Regions from separate parts of the Homo sapiens genome. Here regions 1 and 2 are each linked to region 3. The links are contacts of gene promoters, found by promoter capture Hi-C in human tissues and cell types (Jung and others, 2019). All regions are on one chromosome and are shown on one strand. Each heading gives the region's core, a stretch centred on a gene start or on the middle of the fragment in contact. The rest is flanking DNA. Distances are from core to core; before and after follow the strand shown.

Region 1 (3,755 bases), core at 616-3,115, 92 kb before region 3:
TGCTAAAACATATTGTTCAAAGAGGCTATAGATGTTAAAATAGTGACTACACAGAATTTGATCCTGAAGAAACTCTATTGTTAACATTTCACAGCACAAAGCAAACATACAGATTTTAATTTTCTTTCCAAATCTAGCAACTTAATAATTTTTTAGGCACAAATGTGGTTAATTAACAGACTTAAAGGAATTGGTTTAAGGTTACAGTATAGAAATAACTCAAATAAGCAACTTAATTCAATAGAATTGTCCTAGAATAAAGTTGCACATCAAGATTTTATAATAGAAGTGTTTTGCAAGAGCAATGTTACAAAGTTTAAAACTTTTAATAGTAAATGGAAGAACACAAATTTTATTTATTTATAAGATGTAAACTTATTAAGGAGCAAAATCATTAAGACCTGGCTTTAACAATAATGAAGGAAAAGTGATGAAATATAGTACGAGGAGAATATACTAGAATACCTTTTATATTCTACACCAAAGCATTAGTAATGCATGAGTAACTGTATTGCTAAGATTCCTTGCAGCTATTCTAGATTTACATTAAGAATTTTATAATAAAATATAAAATTAAAGAACATTTTTAATGGGCTGTGATCAAAAAAATATCTTTTAAAAGCTATTCTATCTTTTCACATGTAGAAACTAACAAAAGAAAAATAAATTTCCTTAGCTAAAAAGTTAAAAGTATTGCTTTTCAATTTATACTCTAAATCAATTCAAGTGCTCTTCTTTAACTGGTATTTCCTTTAAAAAGCAAAAATTCTTACATAAAAGCAACGTATTAACTTCAAAAAAAAAGTTGCTAGTCAAGACTTTAGCTTGTTTTAATCCTGGTTTCACATTCACATAAAAGGAACTGAATGTTAAAGTGTCTTGGTAAACAGCTGAAATCTAATAAAAACAAACATTCTAAGGATCTAAAACACTTTTGATATTGAAGCACAGAATTTAGTTCCAACCTACTTTATTCTATTTTAGCACTCAAATTTTGAAGCCTGGAAGCCTTACTAAGTGTTAAACTAGAATTAAGTAGGAGTTCCAACAACAAAAAATATTAATGGAGTAAAATAAACTATGTGAAACATGCATGCTCTGGGGAATATCTAACATGCAGATTTAGCCTTTCAAGTTATTTCATTCTTTGCATTACATTTTACCTTAAAAGGTTCCCTAACCTGTATTAATTGCCTGAAGGCACACTGTTTAATATTTAAAGAAATTTTAGTAAGAACTGCCTGTAATACTCATTAAAAGCTTTATAATGACCATTTTTAAAAGATTATTTTAACTGACTTTAAGCAAGCCATCTGGCAAACAATATTTCTAATAAAAATCACCTACTGCGTTTGACAACAATATTAGCCCATACAAAATTTAAGACATAAACTGAAGCGAATTTTCAAACAGGAATATAAAAAGATTTAATAAGCCAGGACCTGTTTAAAAATCTTTTTCCAAACTTTTTTAAAATTGAATTTACAGTTAGGATTAAATAAATGGACCTTTTAGCCAACATTACTGCAAATACTAAGCCATAAACATTAAGACCATAACATTAAAATCCCGTCACATACAGTATAATATAATGCAAATACTTTTTAAAAGGTTAAAAAGTGACTTTTGGCACAAAGACCAGAACCAAAAACAGGAGGAAAAAAATTCTAATAAGTAGTACTTGTGTAAATTAGGTCCAGAGATTAATTATAAGAATTAAGCTTCTAGACATATTTACAAATGCTATTGTTTTTTAAACAAAATCTCACACATGAACATATACAGAAAAAGAAATACGTTCTTTTACTTAGTTAATAAGGATTCAAGAGGATAAAAATAAATTTAATGAATTCATTAGTCATAAAAATTTAAAGTATTTTAACATTTATAACATTGTATAAAGACTGAAAAATAAACATAACAAAATCTAAAAATAAGTTTAAAAATGAAAACCAGAAATTCAAACTGCAGTGGTATTCTAAACCAATCTGTTGTAATTAATTGCACTAATGAATACAGTAAATTACTAAGAATTATTTAATCATCATGTTATATGATCTAAACACTGAGGAAAGTATGTGCAGTAATGACTTGCAGGTGAAGAAAACAGGAAGTGGGAGAAAGAACTCACAAAAATCAATATTAACTCCAGATTACACACAATGTACAACAATGGTAGTTTCACATCTTGCTTCATGCCTCACTGAATCAAAGGGGAGCTTCATGTCAATAGCAGCTCAATGAGGCAGCAAAACAGTACTTTAAAGACTAAAAGAATATGCGGCTGGGCGCGGTGGCTCACACCAGTAACCCCAGCACTTTGGGAGGCCAAGGCGGGTGGATCACAAGGTCAGTAGTTCATGACCAGCCTGGCCAAGATGGTGAAACCCCATCTCTACCAAAAATACAAAAAAATTAGCTGGGCATGGTGGCAGGCACCTGTAATCCTAGCTACTCGGGAGGCTAAGGCAAAGAATTGCTTGAACCAGGGAGGCAGAGGTTGCAGTGAGCCAAGATCACGCCACTGCACTCCAGCTGGGGCACAGAGCAAGACTCCATCTCAAAAAAAAAAAGGGAAAAAGAATATGCAAGAATAATTGTTATGCAAAGCTGGCTAACCTCAAAATAAAATCTAAAAACTTTTTTTATTAGATGGAACATAAAATGTTAAAAGCATATTTTCTATCAAAGTTCTATATTTGGGATTAATTCAATTAATTATATAGAAGAGAAGCATTATCCAAAAAAGAGCCTGTAACTCTTTGTATAAAATGATAAGGGGAAGAATCTTTCAATAAAACAATTATAATTAGTAACTATATACTAATAATTAGTAACATCAATTTACTAATTCATTTTTAAAGTTTTTAATTTCTCACCAAACAGCTACAAAAATATAAAATACAACATGTCATTTCACTGTTAAAGCCATACCTGCCACTTAATAGTTTCAAGAAAGAACTAATGAAAGTTGCTAGGGAAGGCGTCATTATTCTATTTAATATGCTGGTGTCCTCATTTTTAGAGCCAAATTCACATTCCAGTCATAGAAAATAGAGTTTTATGACAGTGTTTTCTATCTAAGCCTCATGAATGCCCTTACCCTTATTTTTCCTTTAGTTTCTCACCTCCTTATAATTTAAGTAATCTTGCTTTCTCTTTTTTTACTCCTGGTTAACTGACTTAAATGCTTTTTTGGCAAAAGCACAGTAGAAGAACACATATATACATATTTTCCCCAATCATAGGATAATAGCATTATCAACTAGACAAGAAAGTTAAGTGTATTAACACTGCATACACACACACACACACAAACACAAAAGCCTCAGGGAAATAAATTATATGAACATAAAGGGAAAGAGAAGAATGCAAAAAGACTTTCCTGGAGAGGAAGATTTTCCGGTTTGTGAAGTCATCAATATCATACAGGGTTATAAGTATCAAATAATATAGTAATAAATCCATGAAACACTTCATAAACCTTAGTTATTATTACTGTCATTATCTAACAAGGTTGACTACCTAGGAAGCTAATTGCTGGAAAACAATAATTTGCAAAAACCCCGCTATTTCTTTCAAGCAAAAATACACTATTTTTTTATGCAAAAATATAAAATATATTGTCACAAAGTAAACAGTCAATATAAACTTCAGCATGGAGCCAAAATGAGCTCATTATTAGAAAAATAGTATTAATCAGGAGAAAAGTGCTTCAGAAACAATGTATTTTAGTCAGTTAGCTTAAAGCCATA
Region 2 (3,690 bases), core at 383-2,882, 89 kb after region 3:
AAAGCCGCCTGGGAAAATTCCCGTGATGCTAGAGTTTGTAGTGAGGGCAGATTATGGCCATTTCCTCCTTTTCTGGATCACGAAAAGAAACGCAAGTTATTCTATGAAGACATAGGGCTTGATTAGACTTTGAGGGTAGTCAAAGCTGAAATTTAGTTCTTGAAACTGTGAGTCTGGAATCTAGAAGTTTAACTCCAGTAATTTAATTCCGGAAGAATATTTAAATCTGTAATGCTTGGATTTTGCTATCGCTATTTCTCATGATTTGAACTTTTACGTAAATGTCATTATATATGGTAGAATTCTATTGATAAAAAATAAAACCCACTTAAATGTGACGGAAAATGACAAATTACTTAGAAGAGAACTAAAGCATTTAGCTGAGTAGAGAATTTAAGGCCCCACCTAAATGTGTCAACATAAGTGTAGAATAAGAAACTACTTTTAAGATTTAATGTCTTGCTGATGTTAACACAGTGCTGGATATAATGGCACCTGATAAATATTTTTGAGTAAATGAATGGGCTGCTGAAATGATGGAGAGTCTTTAGATAGAACACATTTCCCAGAGTTGAAATTTTGCAAGACCCTCCTGGGTACATTTCTTCTCTTGTGACACTCTAATGATCACCAGGGATGAATAGCTCATTTTGACATATAATACATCCTTCTCTTATTTCAAGGACTTTCTCATTCAGGTATTATTGAAAGCAAAATGCATAGCTGAAATTTTCTTGGGTAAAAGTGGGAGCGGGGAGAGAGGAACAGGAAGGGGACTGTTTCTCCCTAGAATGATGCAGTGGTAGAACCAGAGAACTATTGGTAGGAGGAACAACCCCAGCACAAGTAGATATGAAACCTAGAGAGTAGGTGGAGTATGCCTGTGGTAGGTGTTTTTAAGGATGGATCCTCATGCACTGCAATCCCTTCACAGTTATTTCACTGTTATTACTACTGGAAAGATTTTTTTTTTTTGACAGGCTCTCACTCTGTTGCTTAGGCTAGAGTGTAGTGGCACGATCATGGCTTGCTGCAGTGGCACAATCACGGCTTGCTGCAGCCTTGAGCTCACAGGCTCAAATGGTCCTCCCACCTCAGCCTCCTAAGTAGCTAGGACTACATGCGTGGCTAATTTTGTTTTTTATTTTTATTTTTTGTAGAGATGAGGTCTTACTATGTTGTCCAGGCTGGTCTTGAACTCCTGGAATCAAGCAATCCTCTGCCTCAGTCTCCCAAAGTGCTGGAATTATAGGCATGAGCCACTGAGCCTGGCCTGGAAAACCATTTTTTATTTAGTTGTTTAACACTACATGTTCTTCCATCATCTTTATTTTCTTCAAAAGTATCCTGGCCAACTAAAAACTGTGTATGTTTAAATTTTAAATTTAGAGAAGTTAATCAATTTGTAGTCAATCACCATATAGGCTCAGAAAGAGTTGAACACTTTTTTTTTGTTTGTTTAAAAAATTCTGGGGTGGGGGGAGGGGGGAGGGATAGCATTAAGAGATATACCTAATGTAAATGACAAGTTAATGGGTGCAGCACACCAACATGGCACATGTATACATATGTAACAAACCTGCACATTGTGCACATGTACCCTAAAACTTAAAGTATAGTAATAATAAAAAAATTCTGGTCTTGAACTCCTGACCTCAGGTAATCCACCCATCTCAGCCTGTAATTCCAGCTACTTGGGAGGCTGAGGCAGGAGAATCGCTTGAACCTGGGAGGCGGAAGTTGCAGTCACCTGAGATCATGCCATTGCACTCCAGCCTGGGCAACAAAAGCAAAACTCCATCTCAAAAAAAAAAAAAAATTATGTATTACACTCACAAATTCCTGGAAGTAGAGCTGGAAACAGCAGATGCATGTTTAATAATTTACCTAAAGACTTGTTATATATTTATACTCTGCTTTATGCCTGCAAAATTATACTTGTTTACACACATATTTTTGGCAAATACATGTTCTAATACTACTTTTATTTGCAAAGCAAAGATTTAAATGTAATCAGTACACAGAAATGGATAGAAGATAAAGTGAAACTTCAGGTCCATCACTTTTAAGAATGTGTCTAATAATCGGAGAAACATTTGGTAGGAACTGTGATTACACTGCAGCTTAATTATTTGCATATTGTGAAATGATTTGCATAATACCAGGGCCAGGAGTTCTAAGAATTATATTTTTCTGCCACAACTTTTAACATGACTAGAATAAAATATGTAGTATTTTTTCTTTTTATATTGTTCCAGCATCCAAATGTTTAGAAACACAAAAATATGTCCATGTGCTCACTCGAAAAAACAAAGAGAAATAAGAAAGAGCACTTTATGCTGAGGAATAAGTAAATTTAAATTAGATTAAACTTTGCAGAGGGTTCTTCGAGGAGGTTTGGGTAGATTCCAAACCTTAGCATATCATTCAAGAAATGAAAGGCCTCAGGGCATTCCAAAAGGCATGTCCGCTCTAAATCAGCTTTAGTTCATTTCAAATAAAAAAATATATGACTGAACTTGAAGGCTGGATAAAGAGGGGAGTCTTATTTCTACTCAGCAGATCTATCATGGTGAAATAAAATAACTGTGGAAATCTAGGCCCTTCAATTGTAGAATTTCTTCAAAGAATTTATATATATAACTGCCGAGATAGTAGTTCCTGTTCAATCACTTAGCCTTCATGAAACTGAAAGACTTGTCAGTATGCTCAGAAGTATGGTAACTCTCTTTCTACTGGAAATTAGTTATAGGTAAAATGAATTAGCCCTCATGGAGTGCTTAGAAGATAACATACTAGACGTTTTCAGCATATTTCATGATGCATAACATTTTATGATTTTAATTATAGGTCAATCTCAGATAGCTGACTGGTCTGTCAACTGTTAAAAATATTTTTTCCTTTTGATTAAAGCCCAAAACAATGGAAAATTAAGTCAACTTCAAATAAAATGTAAAAATTTCAGCTGGGCGCAGCGGCTCATGCCTGTAATCCCAGCACTTTGGGAAGCTGAGGCAGGTGGGTCACCTGAGGTTGGGAGTTCGAGACCAGCCTGGTGAACGTGGTGAAACCCCATCTCTACTAAAATACAAAAATTAGCTGGGCATGGTGGCAGGCGCCTGTAATCCCAGTTACTTGGGAGGCTAAGGCAGGAGAATCACTTGAACCTGGGAGGTGGAGGTTGCAGTGAGTTGAGATTTTGCCATTGCACTCCAGCCTGGGTGACCAGAGTGAAACTCCGTCACAAAAAAAAAAAAAAAAGTAAAAATTTCAACATTAGTTAACTGAGCTAAACAGAGAATGTAATGAAATATCAGCTTCATTTCTCAAAGTTCAACTTTTCAGCATTTTATGGTGGCAAACTTGCTGTAAAAACATGCTCATGAAAAATATTGTAATTTGTGATCTCTTCCCCTTTTTATTATTAGATCATGTATAACTTTAGGACAATGAAGATTTTGATATGGATAACTACCTTAAATAGATAATAAACATAGTAAAACAAAAGTACAAAATCTTTGTGGAGATATAAACAAAACTCACAAACAAGACTTAAGATTGATTTTAATCTTCCATTATATTTTTTATGAACAACACGAGCGATTAAGAAAGACCTATTTTCTTTGCTGGTGTTCTCAGCCATACTTCCCTTGAGAAGTATACCAAAGGAAGTATGGTAATGAGGATTAG
Region 3 (4,179 bases), core at 708-3,207:
TCCAGTGGAGTAGAAACACATGGTCTTGGCCGGGCGCGGTGGCTCACGCCTGTAATCCCAGCACTTTGGGAGATCGAGGCGGGCGGATCACGAGGTCAGGAGATCGAGACCATCCTGGCTAACACGATGAAACCCCATCTCTACTAAAAATATAAAAAATTAGTCGGGCATGGTGGCACGCGCCTGTAGTGCCAGCTACTCAGGAGACTGAGGCAGGAGAATCGCTTGAACCCGGGAGGCAGAGGTTGCAGTGAGCCAAGATCACGCCACTGCACTCCAGCCCGGGCAACAGAGTGAGACTCCATCTCAAAAAATAAATAAATAAATAAATAAATAAATAAGCAAATAAATAATATGGCCTTTTCTGTTGTTATAAATTTTAAATCTACCAGCGATGTCAACACATTAGGGTAATGCAAAAACAAGTTAAATCCTACATCAAATGACATCTTGATTGACCAGCAATAAAATAAAGCCTGTCTACAAAAAAAAAGAAAATCTCACCAAGTTTATCATGACGGCAGGTGACCTAGACAGCTGCTTTGTAATATGCTGAAGTAGGCAGCTATGAGTAGCTGGGAAGCATACACAATACAAGGCCACCCTGAAGCAAAGGTTAGGATGATGTCATTAAAATGTTGAATTTTGAGAGGCCGAGGCGGACGGATCACGAGGTCAGGAGATCGAGACCATCCTGGCTAACGTGGTGAAACCCCGTCTCTACTAAAAAATACAAAAAAAAAAAAAAAAAAAAAATTAGCTGGGCGTGGTGGCGGGCGCCTGTAGTCCCAGCTACTCGGGAGGCTGAGGCAGGAGAATGGCGTGAACCCAGGAGGCGGAGCTTGCAGTGAGCCGAGATCACACCACTGCACTCCAGCCTGGGCGACAGAGCGAGACTCCATCTCGGGGGGAAAAAAAGTTGAATTTTGAGAAAGAGCAGCAGCAGGCAAACCCAACTGACCTACAGTAATCAAAGAAGCAGAAATGGATCATCCCTTTTGGAATTAAGATCTTGTGCAAATTACAAAGGAAAGAGACACAACTGCAAACAACAAAAGACTCTACCCCCACTTCAGCATCAAACCAGAGGGCAATCTGTCTATGCTGTGGAAAAGGGCTTCTGATCCTGCACTGATCTGGATGACACCCGCACATTCAGTGTTTCTAGCCTATCATCGTTAAAAAAGAAATACTCATATACTTACATTAAAAAGTTCATGTAGAAAACTTAAATTTCCATATTTAAAGCTTAGATCTCTTCCACACGACTCATCCAGGATAAACTTATGGTTTAATATTCTACATGTTTAATTATACCATGTTCAACTCAGTTGGGTTGCCAGCCCTCCACGTGGCTTAAGGTTAAGTACATTTTTTGAAGGCTTCTTGTTTTTGTCTTCTCAGTGTGCTATTTATGCTGCTAATTATAAGGTTTTCAAGCATTTTTCCCTCTTTGGAATTTTAATTTACTGTAAATGCTTGCCCCTTAGAACATTTCCTAGTGTCATTTTATTTTTGACCGTTTTGAATACAAAATCCTTGATAAAGACATCCAAAAAGAGGGAGAATGGGGAACAGGGACATACTGGGGGGCTTCTGAATTGTCCTCTGAAGTTTTGTCATCTAGATGCTGAGGGTGGTCTCTTTGTTAAAAATTTAACCATCCAGACCTTAAGGCCACACAATTAATATTCCCTCTGGAATTGTAGGGCCTCTGTTTGAAAGAGTTGTCCAGTTTTCAGGCCACATTAGGTAATTTCCCGCCCAGGAGCGTGGCTTGGAAAGAATGTCGGTGTTTTCCTTCAGGTATAGGTGCCTGGGGGTCAGGAGGGGAGGGAAAGGCGAGGGGTGGAGTGGGAGGCGGGTGATCGACAGGGATAGAAACTGTGTCTCCTCCTCCCTCTGAATGCGAAATAGCCAATGAGGTGGCTAGGCCGGGCCGGCCCGGCCGCCACTGCCATATAGTATGCAGCAACCGGAGGAGTCACGTTGGGGGAACGGCAGAAAGCAGCTATCCGTTTACACTACTTTGCTCTAACAGCTATCTTAATGGTGACTGCGTGGCCGGGGGGAAACCTGATCGGCCAGATACAGCCGAAACCAGGAGGGAGGGAGTGGGCTTTCCGGAGGGGGAGAGGAGGGAGGGAGACGAAGGAGGAGGAGTAAGAGAGGAGGAAAGAAAGAGGAAAAGAGTGCGAGGGAGTGAGGGAGGGAGGAAAATAAACAACAAAAAATGTCCTCTTCCTCCCCCACCGGGCAGATCGCAAGTGCGGCGGACATCAAGCAAGAGAATGGGATGGAAAGCGCCTCGGAAGGGCAGGAGGCGCACCGAGAAGTGGCGGGGGGCGCGGCGGTAGGGCTGAGCCCCCCGGCTCCAGCCCCTTTTCCCCTGGAGCCGGGGGACGCCGCGACCGCTGCCGCCAGGGTGAGCGGAGAGGAAGGGGCAGTGGCGGCGGCGGCGGCCGGAGCGGCGGCGGATCAGGTACAACTCCACTCGGAACTTCTGGGCAGGCACCACCACGCCGCCGCCGCCGCCGCGCAGACCCCGCTGGCCTTCTCGCCCGACCACGTCGCCTGCGTGTGCGAGGCACTGCAGCAGGGGGGCAACCTGGACCGCCTGGCCCGGTTCCTGTGGTCCCTGCCCCAGAGCGACCTGCTACGTGGCAACGAGAGCCTGCTGAAGGCGCGGGCGCTCGTGGCCTTCCACCAGGGCATCTACCCCGAGCTCTACAGCATCCTCGAGAGCCACAGCTTCGAGTCGGCCAACCACCCGCTGCTGCAGCAGCTCTGGTACAAGGCGCGCTACACCGAGGCCGAGCGAGCCCGCGGCCGGCCGCTGGGAGCCGTAGACAAGTACCGGCTGCGCAGGAAATTCCCCCTGCCCCGCACCATCTGGGACGGCGAGGAGACGGTGTATTGTTTCAAGGAGAAGTCGCGCAACGCGCTCAAGGAGCTCTACAAGCAGAATCGCTACCCTTCGCCCGCCGAGAAGCGGCACCTGGCCAAGATCACCGGCCTCTCCCTCACCCAGGTCAGCAACTGGTTCAAGAACCGCCGGCAGCGCGACAGGAACCCCTCCGAGACCCAGTCCAAAAGGTGAGCGCCAACTTTCCTCCTCCTCCCCCTTCCTCTCCCCCACCCCCTTCCCGGCTTTCTTTTCCTCCAAGTGCTCGCAAACATGGCGCTTACCTTCCCCACCAGCCTGGTCCGGCTGCCCACCTCTCCCCGCCCCCTACCTCGCTCCCCGGCCGGCAGAGGTAGGGGGCGGCGGAGGCGGGGGGCGGGGGAACCTCCCTCCTTACCCTCCCCCTCTCCCCCCAGAAGTTTCTGGTCGCCCGCCTAGGTCTCAGTCCCCGCCCCCACCTCGGCTGGTCACTGCTGCCCAGCTTCCCACCCCCATCCCGCTGGCTTTGAAGTTGCCACCCTCTCCCCGTTTCTGGAGGGGCTAACGAAGCAAATGTGGACACCGGCACCGTAGCTCTCCCTGCCGCCCGAGGCCCGCAGAGACTGCCGGCGCCGGCCGGGGTCTGCACCTCCGCGAGGTCACACCGGGCCTGGCGCGCGCGCACGCTCCCGGATCCCCAGGGTTCAGCCGCCCCCCGGGCCTGCGCTGGAGGTCGCGGTGGCTGCTCTGGTGAAGGGAAGAGAGTGTTGTGGGACTGGCGGCGCAGAAGGGGTCTCGGAACGTCGAGGTTTCATATGACAGAGTTAATCATTCACCCTGCCCCTATGGTTCCCTTAGCGGCCGCGGCAACGTGGGGTGCTGGTGCAGCTCGGCTCTGTCATGTTTTGAAACCTGATTCTGAACTCCTTAGGATCGGGTTTCAGCGCAGCCGGGGTAGCAGGGCTGAAGGGCTGCTTCCTCCCTCGGCCCCCGAACGCTGCTTGGCTCCCTCCTGGTACGGTAGTTATGGGTGGGGGGCAGGCCGGCTTACGGCGGGCGGCAGCAAAGGAGTGGGGGCGCTCCCACCCCACTGGGTTTGAGCTTTTTGCCTGGCAGACTGCTTTCCCCCTCTGGTAAAAAAAATACCGGATTTTCCACCTCTTTTGTGCGTCCTCCCGAGTCAGACACTTGGTGTGTGCGTCTGTGTGTTTTGTTGGACGAAACAAAGTAAGGAGAAGGTCGCCTAAAGACCTGGTGTCTCCAGCCCCGCGGGGATAGGAGAGAAAGAATCCAAA

The links. The method cuts DNA at HindIII sites, captures the fragments that hold promoters and counts their contacts. A contact is called where the count stands out against the background at its distance.
Region 1: a fragment that was not itself captured here is called in contact with the fragment with the promoter of SIX4 in region 3 in 2 of the 25 tissues and cell types used here (IMR-90 fibroblasts and adrenal gland).
Region 2: a contact is called between a fragment that was not itself captured here and the fragment with the promoter of SIX4 in region 3, in 2 of the 25 tissues and cell types used here (H1 embryonic stem cells and IMR-90 fibroblasts).

What each region holds. Positions count from the first base shown.
Region 1 is chr14:60,814,042-60,817,796 of GRCh38, reverse strand. The region is part of intron 5 of MNAT1 (MNAT1 component of CDK activating kinase); the gene reads right to left. Among named protein-coding and RNA genes, the nearest start is that of MNAT1, 81 kb to the right of the region's middle. The HindIII fragment of the contact is 3,774 bases long and covers 1-3,752 here.
Region 2 is chr14:60,633,123-60,636,812 of GRCh38, reverse strand. No RefSeq gene overlaps it. Among named protein-coding and RNA genes, the nearest start is that of SALRNA1, 4.2 kb to the left of the region's middle. The HindIII fragment of the contact is 6,155 bases long and covers 1-3,690 here.
Region 3 is chr14:60,722,129-60,726,307 of GRCh38, reverse strand. SIX4 (SIX homeobox 4) reads left to right here and starts at 1,957. Exons shown (of 3, transcript NM_017420.5): 1 at 1,957-3,096. The coding sequence starts at 2,234. RefSeq lists silencers at 2,475-2,544, 3,823-3,892. The HindIII fragment of the contact is 7,845 bases long and covers 615-4,179 here.